Regions from separate parts of the Homo sapiens genome. Here all the other regions are linked to region 4. Evidence: promoter capture Hi-C in 16 types of primary human blood cells and fetal thymus (Javierre and others, 2016). All regions are on one chromosome and are shown on one strand. The core of a region is centred on a gene start or on the middle of the fragment in contact, and the rest is flanking DNA. Distances in the headings are between cores, read along the strand shown.

What was found. The method cuts DNA at HindIII sites, captures the fragments that hold promoters and counts their contacts. A CHiCAGO score of 5 or more calls a contact.
Region 1: a fragment that was not itself captured here is called in contact with the fragment with the promoter of PHLPP1 in region 4 in 3 of 17 cell types (total B cells, fetal thymus and naive CD4 T cells); the score reaches 7.5 in total B cells.
Region 2: a fragment that was not itself captured here is called in contact with the fragment with the promoter of PHLPP1 in region 4 in 3 of 17 cell types (total B cells, naive CD4 T cells and activated CD4 T cells); the score reaches 11.2 in total B cells.
Region 3: a fragment that was not itself captured here is called in contact with the fragment with the promoter of PHLPP1 in region 4 in 1 of 17 cell types (fetal thymus); the score reaches 6.3 in fetal thymus.
Region 5: a contact is called between a fragment that was not itself captured here and the fragment with the promoter of PHLPP1 in region 4, in 1 of 17 cell types (naive CD4 T cells). The highest score is 5.1, in naive CD4 T cells.

The regions. Positions count from the first base shown.
Region 1 is chr18:63,335,390-63,338,089 of GRCh38, reverse strand. The region is part of intron 8 of KDSR (3-ketodihydrosphingosine reductase); the gene reads left to right. Among named protein-coding and RNA genes, the nearest start is that of BCL2, 17 kb to the right of the region's middle. The HindIII fragment of the contact is 6,476 bases long and covers 1-2,700 here.
Region 2 is chr18:63,444,204-63,446,903 of GRCh38, reverse strand. No RefSeq gene overlaps it. Among named protein-coding and RNA genes, the nearest start is that of VPS4B, 23 kb to the right of the region's middle. RefSeq lists a silencer at 2,054-2,163. The HindIII fragment of the contact is 2,224 bases long and covers 164-2,387 here.
Region 3 is chr18:62,183,252-62,185,951 of GRCh38, reverse strand. All of the region lies in intron 1 of PIGN (phosphatidylinositol glycan anchor biosynthesis class N), which reads left to right. Among named protein-coding and RNA genes, the nearest start is that of PIGN, 2.5 kb to the left of the region's middle. The HindIII fragment of the contact is 723 bases long and covers 923-1,645 here.
Region 4 is chr18:62,714,233-62,716,932 of GRCh38, reverse strand. PHLPP1 (PH domain and leucine rich repeat protein phosphatase 1) reads right to left here and starts at 1,392. Exons shown (of 17, transcript NM_194449.4): 1 at 1-1,392. The coding sequence starts at 1,249. RefSeq lists silencers at 29-128, 439-578, 789-1,018, 1,369-1,658 and enhancers at 9-971, 1,929-2,038, 2,129-2,188. The HindIII fragment of the contact is 14,296 bases long and covers 1-2,700 here.
Region 5 is chr18:63,407,017-63,409,716 of GRCh38, reverse strand. VPS4B (vacuolar protein sorting 4 homolog B) reads left to right here. Exons shown (of 11, transcript NM_004869.4): 4 at 2,218-2,285. Among named protein-coding and RNA genes, the nearest start is that of VPS4B, 14 kb to the left of the region's middle. The HindIII fragment of the contact is 950 bases long and covers 794-1,743 here.

The DNA of each region.
Region 1 (2,700 bases), core at 201-2,700, 620 kb before region 4:
TGTTGAAATATATACATGTGTGAAGAACTTTGTCCTGAGTGCATTAAAAGGCTCAGGAAGATGGCACAAGTGAGACTTTATTTTTCCTGCTTATCTCGGGTCAAAGCAAATGCATTTGGTGTTTTTTGTTGTTGTTGTTGTTTTGTTTGTTTGTTTGTTTTGAGACGGAGTTTTGCTCTTGTTGCCCAGGCTGGAGTGCAGTGGCACGATCTTGGCTCACTGCAACCTCTGCCTCCTGGGTTTAAGTGATTCTCCTGCCTCGGCCTTCTGAGTAGCTGGGATTACAGGTGCTCACAACCACACCTGGCTAATTTTTTGTATTTGTAGTAGAAATGGGGCTTCACCATGTTGGCCAGGCTGGTCTCGAACTCCTGATTTCGGGTAATCCGCACGCCTCAGCCTCTTGGCCAAAGTGCTGGGATTACAGGCGTGAGCTCCGTGCCCAGCCCATTCAGTGTTTCTAATGATGCTAAATAGCTCTTAGTATTTTGGCAGTATTCATTTAGTTTAGTGGTTTTCAAACTTTTCTTCTCTTGACCACTTTACATTCTTACAAATTGTCAACAACCCCAGAGAACTTTTGTTTATTTACATGGCTATATTTATTGATATTTGCCATATTTGAAATGGAAGCTGTTTGTAATATTTATTGATTCATTAAAAATAACAAAAATGGCTGGGCACAGTGACTCGTGCCTGTAATCCCAACACTTTGGGAGGCCAAGGCGGGCGGATCACCTGAAGTCAGGAGTTCAATACCAGCCTGACCAATATGATGAAACCCCGTCTCTACTAAAAATACAAAAATTAGTCGGGTGTGGTGACATGCGCCTGTAATCCCAGCTACTTGGGAGGCTGAGACAGGAGAATCGCTTGAACCCAGGAGGTGGAGACTGCAGTGAGCTGAGATTGAGCCATTGTGCTCCAGCCTGGGCAACAAGAGCAAAACTCCATATATATATATATATATATATATTCACATATATATATATATAAAGTCACATATATATATATATAAAGTCACATATATATAAAGTGACTTTTTTTAAACAAAATTTACTACTTTTCAAAACAAAAGTTCAGTGAGGACGGTGGCATTGGTTCACATTTTCACCAGTTGCTTTAAGGTCTGCATTAACAGCTGGATTCAAATAGCTGCTTCTGCATTCCATCTGTTGTAATAATGTTGTTTTGATGGAAGGATATACAGAAAATCTGGCCTGAGACAGATACGGAGTTGGGAAAGGGAAGACTATTTTACTAGGCTTTTCAGATAATTATGGACATTCTTTTTTGATATCAAACCCAAACTCAACAAATGGTAGTTTCTTAAAGGTTAGTTGCAGTATAGAATTGGAAACTACATCAATGAATGTTTTGTTCTCTGTTACATTAAATTCCATTGGTCCGTCTTGTACTTTGAATGGATCTTTTAACCATTCATGATTTCGTAACATTATGCATTAGTCATTTGGAAAATATGGGTTGACTGAGTGATCAGAAAAATCGCTTTCATCAGTATTACTGCTGATCTTATCATAAAAGTATGCAGCTGACAGTCTCGTGATGGTGGATACTAGTTTTTCCAAATCTTAATTTTTTCTTGAAGGCTCAGATTTCACATTGATGACACGTGGCCAGTTGTTTTTCCTGAAGTGACACACTTGCTTGCTTCGCTTTCTGCACATCTGCCACATACCTAAGTCTGAATTACTATAGATTTCCTGTCAATGGTCTTTCATATAAAAATTATGCTCTCCAGCCAGGCACGGTGGCTCATGCCTGTAATCCCAGCACTTTTGGAGGCCGAGGCGGCTGGATTGCTTGAGCTCAGGGGTTTGAGACCAGCCTGGCCAACATGGTGAAACCCCATCTCTACTAAAAATACAAAAATTACCCGGGTGTGGTGGTGCATGCCTGTAATCCCAGCTACTTGGGAGTCTGAGGCAGGAGAATCACTTGAACCTGGGAGGCAGAGGTTGCAGTGAGCAGAGATCACACCACTGCATTCCAGCCTGGGCCACAGAGTGAGATTCTGTCGAAAATAAATAAATAAACAATACAAATGATGCTCCATGAAAGAAGTGGCAGTTTAGCCCTTGACTTCAGGAGCTGCACAAGGACTTTTGTTCCAGGCAGTTGTCCCGCCCTGGAATGCAGTGCTGCGGAAGCGCGTTGGGCGCATTCTCATTTGTCACACAGAGTATTAAGAAGACATGTCCTCGAGGGTTGCCATTGAACAAAATGATGAATTTTCCTGCTTTATCAAGAGGATTTTAAAGCAAAACTGACACTTTGATTTTTAAAAGAATTTTAGAACTTGTATTTTCTTTGTGTATTATTTATTACTGCGAGTGCGTGTGGTAGTAGAGGTGACAATGACTCCTAGTACAGTTTGGCAAGAACCCCGTGGTTCTTGCCCATGTCTCTGCAGTTTTGCAGAGGCAAAACTGTATTTTCCATACAACACACTGTGGAAAAGACAATGAATGTCTTAGTGTTATTAGGACAATCATTTGTCCTTGGGGGCCCGCAGGGGTCCGTGGACTCACTTGTTGAGAACTGCCATCTGCCAAGGCCGTGCGTCCATTTCTGAGTGCTGATCAATGCTTTGTGACCATTTTATCTCACTTAAAGTGAACGAGCACACTCCACTGTTTCTGATGTGTCCGACTGATTTCTGTCCACATTACTAGGATT
Region 2 (2,700 bases), core at 26-2,525, 730 kb before region 4:
ACCTAAAGGAGTACCCATGAAGCTACAGATGCGACGTACAACATGACAACAAACTTCACACCAGTGCCTTAGTGTTCAGTTTCCTTGCAAATTCAAGGAAATAATACTAATGAGTAATGGATCAGGTAGATCCTTTTGCTTGCAAGTAACAGAAACATAAGCTTGCCCACAGTGAAAGGAGACAGTATATGTCCATTTAAACAAGTAGGGTAGGCAAAGACCAGGGATTTAGCCCAGGCAGGACATTATCTCACTTCCTTTCATCTCTGCTTCTCTCTGCATGTTGGCCTCAGTCTACCGCTGCAGGTGGACTTTCCCCAGGCAACAGGAGACCTACAGCTTCATCAACACCTACCCCATGGCCAGAGAGCACAAAGCTCTATCCGGCCAGCTCCAGGCAGGCAGACCTCAAGGCAGCATGCTGATTGGCCAAACTCTGGTCACATGTCCATCTCCAGACCAATTAGTATTGTCCAAGTCTGTTACCAATGAAGTAAGTCCCACGGGTCACTGAATTCAAATTGTTCCATTGCAAAGAGTGTCACCTCTCAGATGCCCTTTCAGAAACCTTAGAGCAGTTATTATTGCAATGATTAAGCAACAATTAATAATAACAAGCCAAAGATCTTCCTTGATTTTAACTTCACGAATTTAAAATTTATTCTTATGTATACATAGCACTGAATTGTATTTGTTTAAAAGCTCAAAATCACTTTTTAATGTTTATGATATATTAATATACAATGTAGGACTAAGAAAAATTATACTTTTGTAGGCCAGGTGCAGTGGCTCATGCCTGTAATCCTAGCACTTTGGGAGGCCCAGGTGGGCGGATCACTGGAGCCTCAAATGCTGGAGGAGGCCCAGGGAGACAGCACGTCTCTATCAAAAAGTCCCCCCTGGGGTTACAGGTCATGACAACCCTGGAGGGGTAATGGCAGTACAAGAGTGTGTCTAGGCCGGGCACCATGGCTCACGTCTGTAATCCCAGGACTTTGGGAGGCCAAGGCGGGTGGATCACCTGAGGTCAGGAGTTCAAGACCAGCCTGGCCAACATGGCAAAACCCTGTCTCTACTAAAGATATAAAAATTAGCTGGGTGTAGTGATGCACACTTTTAATCCCAGCTACTCAGGAGACTGAGGCAAGAGAATCACTTGAACCCGGGAGGCAAAGATTGCAGTGAGCCGAGATCATGCCACTGCACTCCAGCCTGGGCCACAGAGGGAGATTCTGTCTCAAAAAAAAGAAAGAAAGAAAAAAGAAAAAAAAAAAAAAGAAAGAAAAAAGAAAAATTATACCTTTTCATTTAGTTGACTAATAACCATAGGTATTTGTGTTTATTACATACTTTCAAATATTAAATTATATTTCTTTTGAGATACTCCATAATTTAGAATTTTCCTTTATGTAAACTCACGTTTTTCCCAATAACTCTAAGCCAATGAGGCTTGGCTCCTCTCTCTGGGCCTTTCTTTCTCTCTCTCCTCAGTCAAACCCACCCTCTCTGCTGCTCCCATAAAACGTCTAGGAGAACTGGTTAATTTCCTCATAAGACAAGATATTTGGCTTTAGGATACAAATGTGACTGGGCAGGCTCTCTGCCCAGGGACTGGGCCCAGCTCCGAGTGGGGTTTGTTCCAACAGAGAATCACCCTAACAGGCCCCAACAAGAGGATCATGGGTTCCAGCTTCTAGGAATGAGGGCTTTTCTGCTACATGATGCCCAGCACCTTGTCTTCTGTGAATCTTGGCTCAAGAGAATGAATTCACACTTTGAGGAAGAATGGGGAAGAATTTTTGGGTGTGGTTTTTGGTTGTTCTGTGGGGGGTTTTGGCCATTAAAGAAAATAGCTCCCATTTCAGGCGCATATTCACCCCAGGAATGGGGTTGCTGAACTGTGCCTTTGAAGAATGAATGCTAGTACTCAAATCCATCATCACGATGGGCACCCTACCTTAGGGATGAAGTTTTATGTGGTAATAAGTAATAAAATATATATGTACGCATTTCGAGAGACATAGTTACATCTCATGGAATCAGAAGCAGAACAAGCTGTTTCCCCAGAGACTCTTTTTTTAACTTCCTGTCAGCCTCAGTGATGGCTCCACAAGTGTTTATTGCCAATGAGTGACATAATCGCTGTCTCATTCAGACAGCACATTTTGCAAAGACACTCCGTTTGACTCACTCAGACATACTGGGTGTGTGTGTGTGTTGTAATATTTCTATAAGCTACCACGTGCTTTTAATTTATTGAGTTTTCAAATGTCTAGGCATTCACTCAGGTTTAAAAGTAAGTACTCAAGAAATAAGCAATCTATATTTCCAACCACAACACTTGTTAAATTGAATAAACAGGAAAAAAAAGGAATGAAAAATAAGCTTTTTAGAACTATGTTTCAGGCTGAATGAGGTGGCTCACACCTATAATCTCAGCCGAGGCAGGTGGATAACTTGAGGTCAGGAGTTCGAGATCAGCCTAGCCAACATGGTGAAACCCCATCTCTACTAAAAATACAAAAATCAGTTGGGCATGGTGGCAGGCGCCTGTAATCCCAGCTACTCGGGAGGCTGAGGCAGGAGAATTTCTTGAACCCAGGAGGCAGAGTTTGCAGTGAGCTGAGATCGCACCACTGCACTCCAGCCTGGGCGACAGAGCAAGACTCCATCTCAAAGGGACAAAAAGAAAAAAAAAAA
Region 3 (2,700 bases), core at 35-2,534, 530 kb after region 4:
GACTCGTTCATGCAGGCTAGAATCAAGGTTTTGGAACTTAGAACTATTTTAAAAGTTGAATGCTTCAGAGAGTTTTGATTTTTTTGATGAAATGTTAGCATATAAAGTACATATCCTAAGTTTAGAAGATCAACGTTTATCTTTTATGTCATTCCTTGATTATGATCTGAAAAGGTAAAGGAATTTCCAGTCAATACAATTAGACTGCTATTTCTTATGGCTCCTATTTTTTTCACACACAAATGACCACTTTTCCAGGCTTTAGATTTCCTTTCTTAGTGTACAGGTAAGTGACATATTACATTCAGTGTGTAGTAAACATTCCACAGTAAAGTATCTCCCGTTAGCTCCATGGAAAAATTAAAATAGACGATTCTTACATAACCTTAGGTCAGGTTATTGGTTTACATGTAAAAGTATGCCAACAGTTAAGAGTAGGCTTTAATTTCAATATACCCAGGCTCAATAAACTAAAATTTTCATTTGAATGGGGATTTGGGTTTTTAAAATTTTATTTTTGCTAGAAGTTTAAAAAAAAAGTACCAAGAATTTAAACTATTTTTTTATAGGACATTAGTTCCCAATGTTTTAATGATAAATAGTTTTCTGTGCCATATATTAAAAGTAAAACATGGGGAAAAAAATCCCCCCAAATAGAATTGAAATGGCAAATACTGTATCCTGTTAGAGATTTCTTAGCAAAAGGGATTGCTGATCCGTATTTTAGTTGGATTTTCCAGAGAGATTAAAATGGAACCAATTTCTGGAATCCAGGAATGGAGGATTAGTGAATGGCATGGGAAGGGCATGATTAGAAATGGATTGTTTATATACAATATTTCCATCTCCATGATTGGGAAATTGAGAAATCTCCTGCATTTAGGATTCCTGAAGAGGATTATGCTTATAAGATAGAAAAGCTTAAGTTCAGATCCCAATTCTACTCATTATTTATTGTGAGACCTTGAAAAAGTTACCTAACTTCTCAGCCTCACTTGCATTCGTCTATCAAAGGGGATAAGGAAAGTACACAGAATTGAGAATGTTCTTGTCCCAGTGCCTGGTACCTGCTACACAATAACTATTACTGTGGTCACTTATTAATTATTGAAATATTAGTATGTGTTGAGAACATTTGACAAGTGTTTAAAAATAAAACTAATATCAATCGTTTTGGCAGTGCAAGCCTGAAAAAGCAATTAAGTCAGTAGGGCTGAAGGGAGTATCTTTAATTTGGGGTCTCAGTTCTAAAACACAAGTTGAAAATAGATTTAAAATGTTTCCTCAGAGTTGTAAGAACTTGCATGTAGAGGAATTCTTCCCATACAAATCTGTGGTTTTCTGCTTCTATTTCTGCCTCCTATCCTATAACCATGAACTTGTGTGTTTGATCTTGTAAGCCCATTAGAAATCAACTGCCCAGTCTTCCCAGTATGTACTTTTCTTTTCCACAATACACAGAGGTTTGGTTATTCGTGAATAATGTATAAGTAACACACACTGGAATATTAAAAATTACCGATCACTACTTATAATAATGTATTATTAATAGTGTTGGGAAATTTCCTTTCTACTTAGTAAGATTTTCATTAATCTAGGCCCTTACAACTAATGTTTCATCTGACTAATGATAGTTATTAAAGCTTGTGCCTTAGCAATGAAGATGTAAAAGATGCCTTTTTTCAAAGCACGTCAATCATTTTAGTATTTAAAAAATTATTTTAGGTTTTAATAGTCTTAAAAGAACCACAAGTAATATTCTGAATGCAAGTTTTGGTTGACTTGAGGTTTTAGTAATACCTCATGTTTTATTGTTTTTCAGTGTGTGGTAAACATCCACAGATAAACTAGATAACTTGTATTGGTACATGCATATATCTTTTTAAAATTTTAATAGTTATGTGTTTGTTTTGGAGGTATTTCTTTTTCAATAAATCTGAATAAATTGTGATTTTCTTTAAAGAGAAGTATTAAGTAATATTTAGTATTAAGCAATTAAACTAATTAAAATAAGTAGTTAGTGAATGCTGATATTTTGTAATAACTGCAATTTTATTTACATTAATAGTAAATTACTTTATCATAAAAGGTTTAGTTTTTTTTTTTTTAAAGTATTTTCAGTCTTCACATCTTGTTCTGGAGGAACAAAAACAGAAGCAGGGCATCCTCTAGTGGCTGTAGTGCATATTGCATTTACCCTTGAAATGATAATTCTAAATAATTTATTCAGCAAACATTTGAGTCCTTACTAAGTGCATAAGACTCTGATGGGTGTTGGAGATGCCCCGTCCTGCTGTCATGGAATTGTGGTGAAGTGACAGAGACAGACATTAATTCAAATAGTCGTAGACAAAGCTATGTAATTACAAACTGAAGTAAAAGTTTTCGTTTCTGACTTCACCTGCATAGTCCCTGAGGAAGTGATGCTTGAAATGGAATGTTAGGAGAGAGTGGAAGATAGGTTGCAAGTACATTCTGCAGAGAGGAATTGAGCCTACAAAGGTCTTATAGCAGTGGGATACTTGAATAAAAGAAGGGGCCAGTGATGTGAGATGTTACAAAGTAAAGGGGAGTGCTATGAGACAGGTTTAGAAAAGAAGGCAGAGGCTAGTCTATAAAAGACCTTGTTAGTCACATTAAGGATTTTAGTCTAGATTAGTAGGTGAAAAGGCACTGGAGAGTTTTTTTTTTCCAGCTGTG
Region 4 (2,700 bases), core at 143-2,642:
GCTGCGGCTGAGGCGAGGAAGCCGTCTGGGGAAGCGGGAGGGGCTGCGCGGGGTGGCCGGGACGGCGGGGCTGGCCCGGGACCCCCGTCGGGGCCGAGGCTGCGTCGGCCTCGAGCTCTTCCGACGACGACGAGGAGCCGCCGCCGCTGCTGTAGGGGTCCAACCGGTCAGACACGCTCTCGGCGCTGGGACTCAGACTGAAGCTCTCGGTGTCGGAGACCACAGGCCGTGGGGCGCGGGGCGAAGAGACAGGGCCCCCAACGAACGGCTCGCCGGGGCTGGAGTCCGAGGGCGCTGGGCTGGCGCGGCGCGACCACCCGCCCGGGCCGCCGACGGGCAGGGGTAGGTCGGCGGGGGGCGCGCGCGGAGGCCCCCCGAAGGCACCCGGCGCGCTCCTCGCGGGCGGTACCTCCGAGTCCCGCGGCTCCGGGGGCGCCAGCCGGGGGCCGGCCTCGGGGGGCGGTTCAGCGGGCTCCCGGGCGGCGGCGGCTCCGGGCCCCTGGCCCAGCACCTTCACCACGCCGCCGCCTTTGTGGCCCAGCTGCAGCAGGCGGGCGGCCACCTCGCCGGCCGTGGTGTCCAGTGTGCAGAGCACCGGGCGCAGGTAGGTCGAGGCCATGTGGCGGTCGAAGACGTGCACGCAGCCGCGCTGGAGCTGGTGCCTCACCCAGTCCCGGTCCGACGGCTGCAGCTGCAGCGTCTGCCGGTGCTTCAGAAGCAGCGTCTTCCTGTCCAGGCTCCGGGTGCACAGCGACGCCGAGGCCGAGCAGGAGGCGGGGAGGCCGGCAGCGCCGGGGGAGTGCGAGGCAGCAGCGGCCGAGGACGACGACGACGAGGAGGCGGCCGCGGCGGCCGCGGACAGATTCCTCTTCAGCCGCCCTCTCCTCAGCAGGAGGGAGTTGGCGCCGCCGCCGGCCCCGGGTACGGGGGCAGCCCCGCCGGCAATGGGCTGGGGCGCCCCGCGCCGCCTCCTGCGCCCGGCACCCCCCGCTCTGCCCGGCAGCGGCCCCGGCGGCGCCTCGCCTGGGGCCTCTTCCCGCGCCCCGCTGCCGCTGCCGTTCCCGCCGCTCGGGGCCGCCGGGGTCAGCGCGGGCTCCGGACTCCGGCCGCCCCCGGCCGCCGCCGCCAGAGCCGCCGCGGCCGCCGCTGCTGCTGCTGCTGCCGCAGCGGCGGCCGCCGGAGCCGAAGCTCGGTCCTCCCTGCCGAGCTCGGGGAGTCGCTGTACCGTGGCCGCGGCGGCGGGCTCCATTGCAGTGGGGCTTCGCGTTTCCCCCCCAGCTCCGGAGGCAGCGGGCGGAGAGGGAGGCGATGAGGCGGAGGTGGGAGACGGCGGCGGCGCGCGGAGAAGGGAGAAGCCAATGGCGTTGTGCGCGGCCGTTCCAGGGGATTATGTGGCGATTCGGAGCATTCCGTCGGTGTCTCAGTGTTCCATCCCGCGCGCCCGCCTCGCCGCCACCGCCCCCCCGACACACGCCCTCCCCGCCCGGGTCGCGGGCTCCCCAGCGCCGGCCCCGCCCGCTACCCCCGCCTCAACCCGGCGAACCAGCCGCGGATCTGGGCTCATTGAATATTAATCATGCGCCGGGAGCGGGAAGGCGGGAGGCTGGCAGGGCGGGAGGGCCGCGTGTGCCTCATAAATATTCATCGCCGGCATGACGGCATTCCAGGGAGGAGTGGGGAGAGCCAGGGGATGGCCGGAGGCGGAGCTTCAGGGTAAACAAACGTGACGCGTGCGTACGAGGGCGGGGTGGGGGGCAGTTTCCCGGGAGGTTCCTGAGCCGGCCTCGGAGAGGGCAGTGAAGACCGACGCGCGCGGTAAACCTTGGGAGTTGTGGTTCTCGTAAGGGGATCGGCAATCCCGAGGGAAACATGGTGGACTACAAGTCCCAGCGGTCCTTTGGTTCTGCTTCTCCTGGCCGCCAGCAGCTGGCCGTGGCCAGTGAGTATTGTGCCCTCTGCCGTTGAACTCTGTGCCAGAGTTCTTAATGAACACGAATGCTCATGTTCATTAACTTGTATTTTACCCGCACTCCAGCTTGCCAGATGACTTTTATTTTCCCTACTAATTAAAGGTGAGGGCTTTCAGGGACTGTAAACGTACGAAGGTCGCAGGTCCTGGTCCTCACCTGCGCCCATTGTATGAGATAGAGATACACACCCGTCACACCACAGCATCACTGGCAGTCTGAGTGGGCCAACCTCACTTTTTCCCCACTTTTTCAAGACCCAGGAAGACAGGCAGCGTCTGGGAATTCTAACTGAGGCTGTCGTTGAATGTGCTTGTTCGAAGGCACAACCCTAAGTCTGTCCTCTCCCTCTCCTGTACCTGAAAAGGAAAATAGCAAAGGACTGAGGTTTCATTGTTTCCCATTGCTCTTGAAGTCTGAAGTAGTTTAATGACACAGAAAGCACTGGTAAGTAGAAGAAACATTAGAATGGAGTATGAGATGGGCTTTTTCCACGTGTTCTGTCTTAACGTCTTCTCTGGTTTTTTTCTTTCATCATTCAGGGAAAAAAAAAATAGTTTCTACTGCCACAATGTTTAGTCGTGGTCTGAAAAGTTGTATTTTTCGTCAGTTGAATCAATGTTGTAATCATTGGGCAGTTTACTATTTAAAAGAATGTTGTACACCTTTTTAATTGAATTACCATTCCCCCAATTGCTTTGTAATTCGGGATTTTTCTTTTCTTTTTTTCTTT
Region 5 (2,700 bases), core at 19-2,518, 690 kb before region 4:
AAAACAACACAGCATAACTTATAAACGTTGAAACTGATTTTTGGCATGTCTTCCTAGATGGGGGATGTATCACTTCTAGATGCAGAATTTGTTTATTCAGTACATGACATATGCGTGCCAAGTTTGTGCTCAGCACTGGGAACATATTCTAACCACATCCTCTCTGGCTGTCCTATTAATTGATGCCAGTAGTTCCAGGTAACACACCCTTAAGAAAATGAGACTCTGGGATGGAGTTATCTGGCCTGCTTGGGTTTGAAAACAGCGAGATTCTGCTCAGCTTTAGAGGATGTGGTTCTCATTGTTCATGGTATGCAGTGGCGCAGGTTATTTAGACAATACCCTGTGGTCACAAGGAATGAAGTGCCTTTTAGGCAGTGCTTTGGGGCTTCGTGGCTGCTACCACAGACCATTTGGAAGTACATGAGGAATATAAGAACCAGTGTTGACTTGGCTGCTTCAAACTATGTGGCAGAGTTTGAAGGAAATGATAAGCTTAAGCTCAAGGTTTTATATTCTCTGTTCAAGATGTGATCGGGGAACCAGGGAGTTTCTGTGACACCCTAAGAACATGTTATCTTCTTCATCGATAGCACTGACTTAACAAAAATCAGATGATAGTCTGATCTTACAAATTACTGAATTCCAACTTAGGGTTTCTTATATGAAAGTGAGGACATTTGGTATAAAACAGGGACTCCAAACATGAAGTGAAAATATTGGGAAGAATTTAGTTGACCTTGACTGCCCAGGACCTCCAGCTGTCACTGAGACTCCCTTGACAGCAGAAGCTTCTCTTCCCTTGTCCATAGAAGCTCTTCTCTCTTGCTTGAAAACCCTGTAAGGATCTCTTCTGAGATGATTACCTGACAAGGCGATGCCAGTTTTTCTTTTGTACTGAACAGCAATCTTCGTTTACAGTAGGACCCACTTTGGCTAATTTAAGCAAAAAGGGATATATTATAGGGTATTACCTTACAGAATAGTGGGGCCAGGGAATCAGGAGAAATGGCCAACAGTACCAGGGTTGTTCAAGTAGGGATCCCACTGTTGCCAACTCCTCTGCTAAGCACTGATGGTGCTTGGGAGCAGGTAGTAAATCCTCTGCGCAGCTCCCTCAGCAAAACCAGTGCCTTCGCCTGAAGATTCTGTCTCCTTGTGAGCAGCCCCCACCTTCTTGGAAGAATTTAGGTCTCATGTGGAACCCTAGCTACAAGGGAGATGAGAAACGGCAGGGTTTTTTTTGTTTGTTTGTTTTTAATAAGGACAGCCTTTATAGTACTGGACAGCATGATAGAAAGAGGTTGGAGTGAGTGTCATGTGAATCTTTTGCAGTGTCTACCTCACCCACAGCCCCACCGTCCTATGATAACCAAGGCAATTCCATTTTGGCATAAAACATGTCATGCTTTTATCTCCCTTTATATGTTATTGTTTTAAAAATGATATAATGCCTTATTTTTGGCTTTATCACTTTTATACTTAACATTGTATCAGGAATATCTTTCCAATAAACTATTTCTACATCACGTTTAAATGTTGCAATGTATCCTGTCATATGCTAGTCCCTATAATATGAGTTACTTTTTCCCCTTTTGCAAACAGTGTGGGTGTGATTATCCTTATGGTCAAATGCTTGAACTTGTCTAAAATTATTTCCTCAAGATAAATCCCTAGATATGAATGAAATGCCTTGATCGACCTACTTGTTCTTTGGGTGTAGTTCATTGTCATCAGGAAGCTTCCTCTGTCCTTTGGAATCCCCAGACTAAGGGTTGTAGACCTTTGTACCTTAGTGTTCCAGATTTTTTTCCTCCTAATATGACCTCTTGTTCTAATTTATATCTTGCCCAGTCCTGATGTTTTTACTGTTGTTGTTTGCAGCTCTCCTGTGATTCATCTTGAATCCTTCATGGAGTGATGTGTGGGGCATGCATTTATGAATTAATACATACCTAAATATGTCATGGGAATTTGGAGCTAGTTCCTGACTTCATTCTGGTCTTTTTGTCCCTTTCTTTTACATGATTCTCTATTGATGATAACGTGACTGCTTCTTATTTACTACATTCTTTAAAATAAGTAAGCATAACTTTTAATGTAAATGTCTGATTTTGCCACTGAAATTACAAATATTTCAGGTTAATTTTTCCTTCATTTTTGCCTTATTTGATAGCAATGAGTGATCATTTGAATATATTAAATTCTTTTTATTAGGAATGACAGTGATGGGGAAGGAGAATCTGATGATCCTGAAAAAAAGAAACTACAGAATCAACTTCAAGGTTGCTTTAGATTTCATTTTTAAATTTACTATCCTATTAAAAAGACTCAAAGTGAATTGTCTATTTGAATTGTTTTTGTTCTCCCTCTATATTTAAATGAAGTTTAAGAACTGGCTTTGGTTCCCAATAGTCATGTGCTGGCTTTGTTTAGAGTGTTTTCTTAGGGTTTGCCCTCTAGGATCATGGTTTGGTCTTTTTTATGTAATAGTTTTGTTGGCTTCACATCTGCCTTTAAAAGGCTCTCAGTCAACTTGCTCTTTCTTTTTGTTTATTTGCCGCCTTTTAGAGAAGGTAACACTTATACTATTAGCACACTGCAAAATTTGATGGTATTAAAATTTACTACTGTGGGAGAAGTTAGGACTTACACGTGGCTTTTATTGCCGTTGCTGTAGCTCACTTATTGATGGTTTAT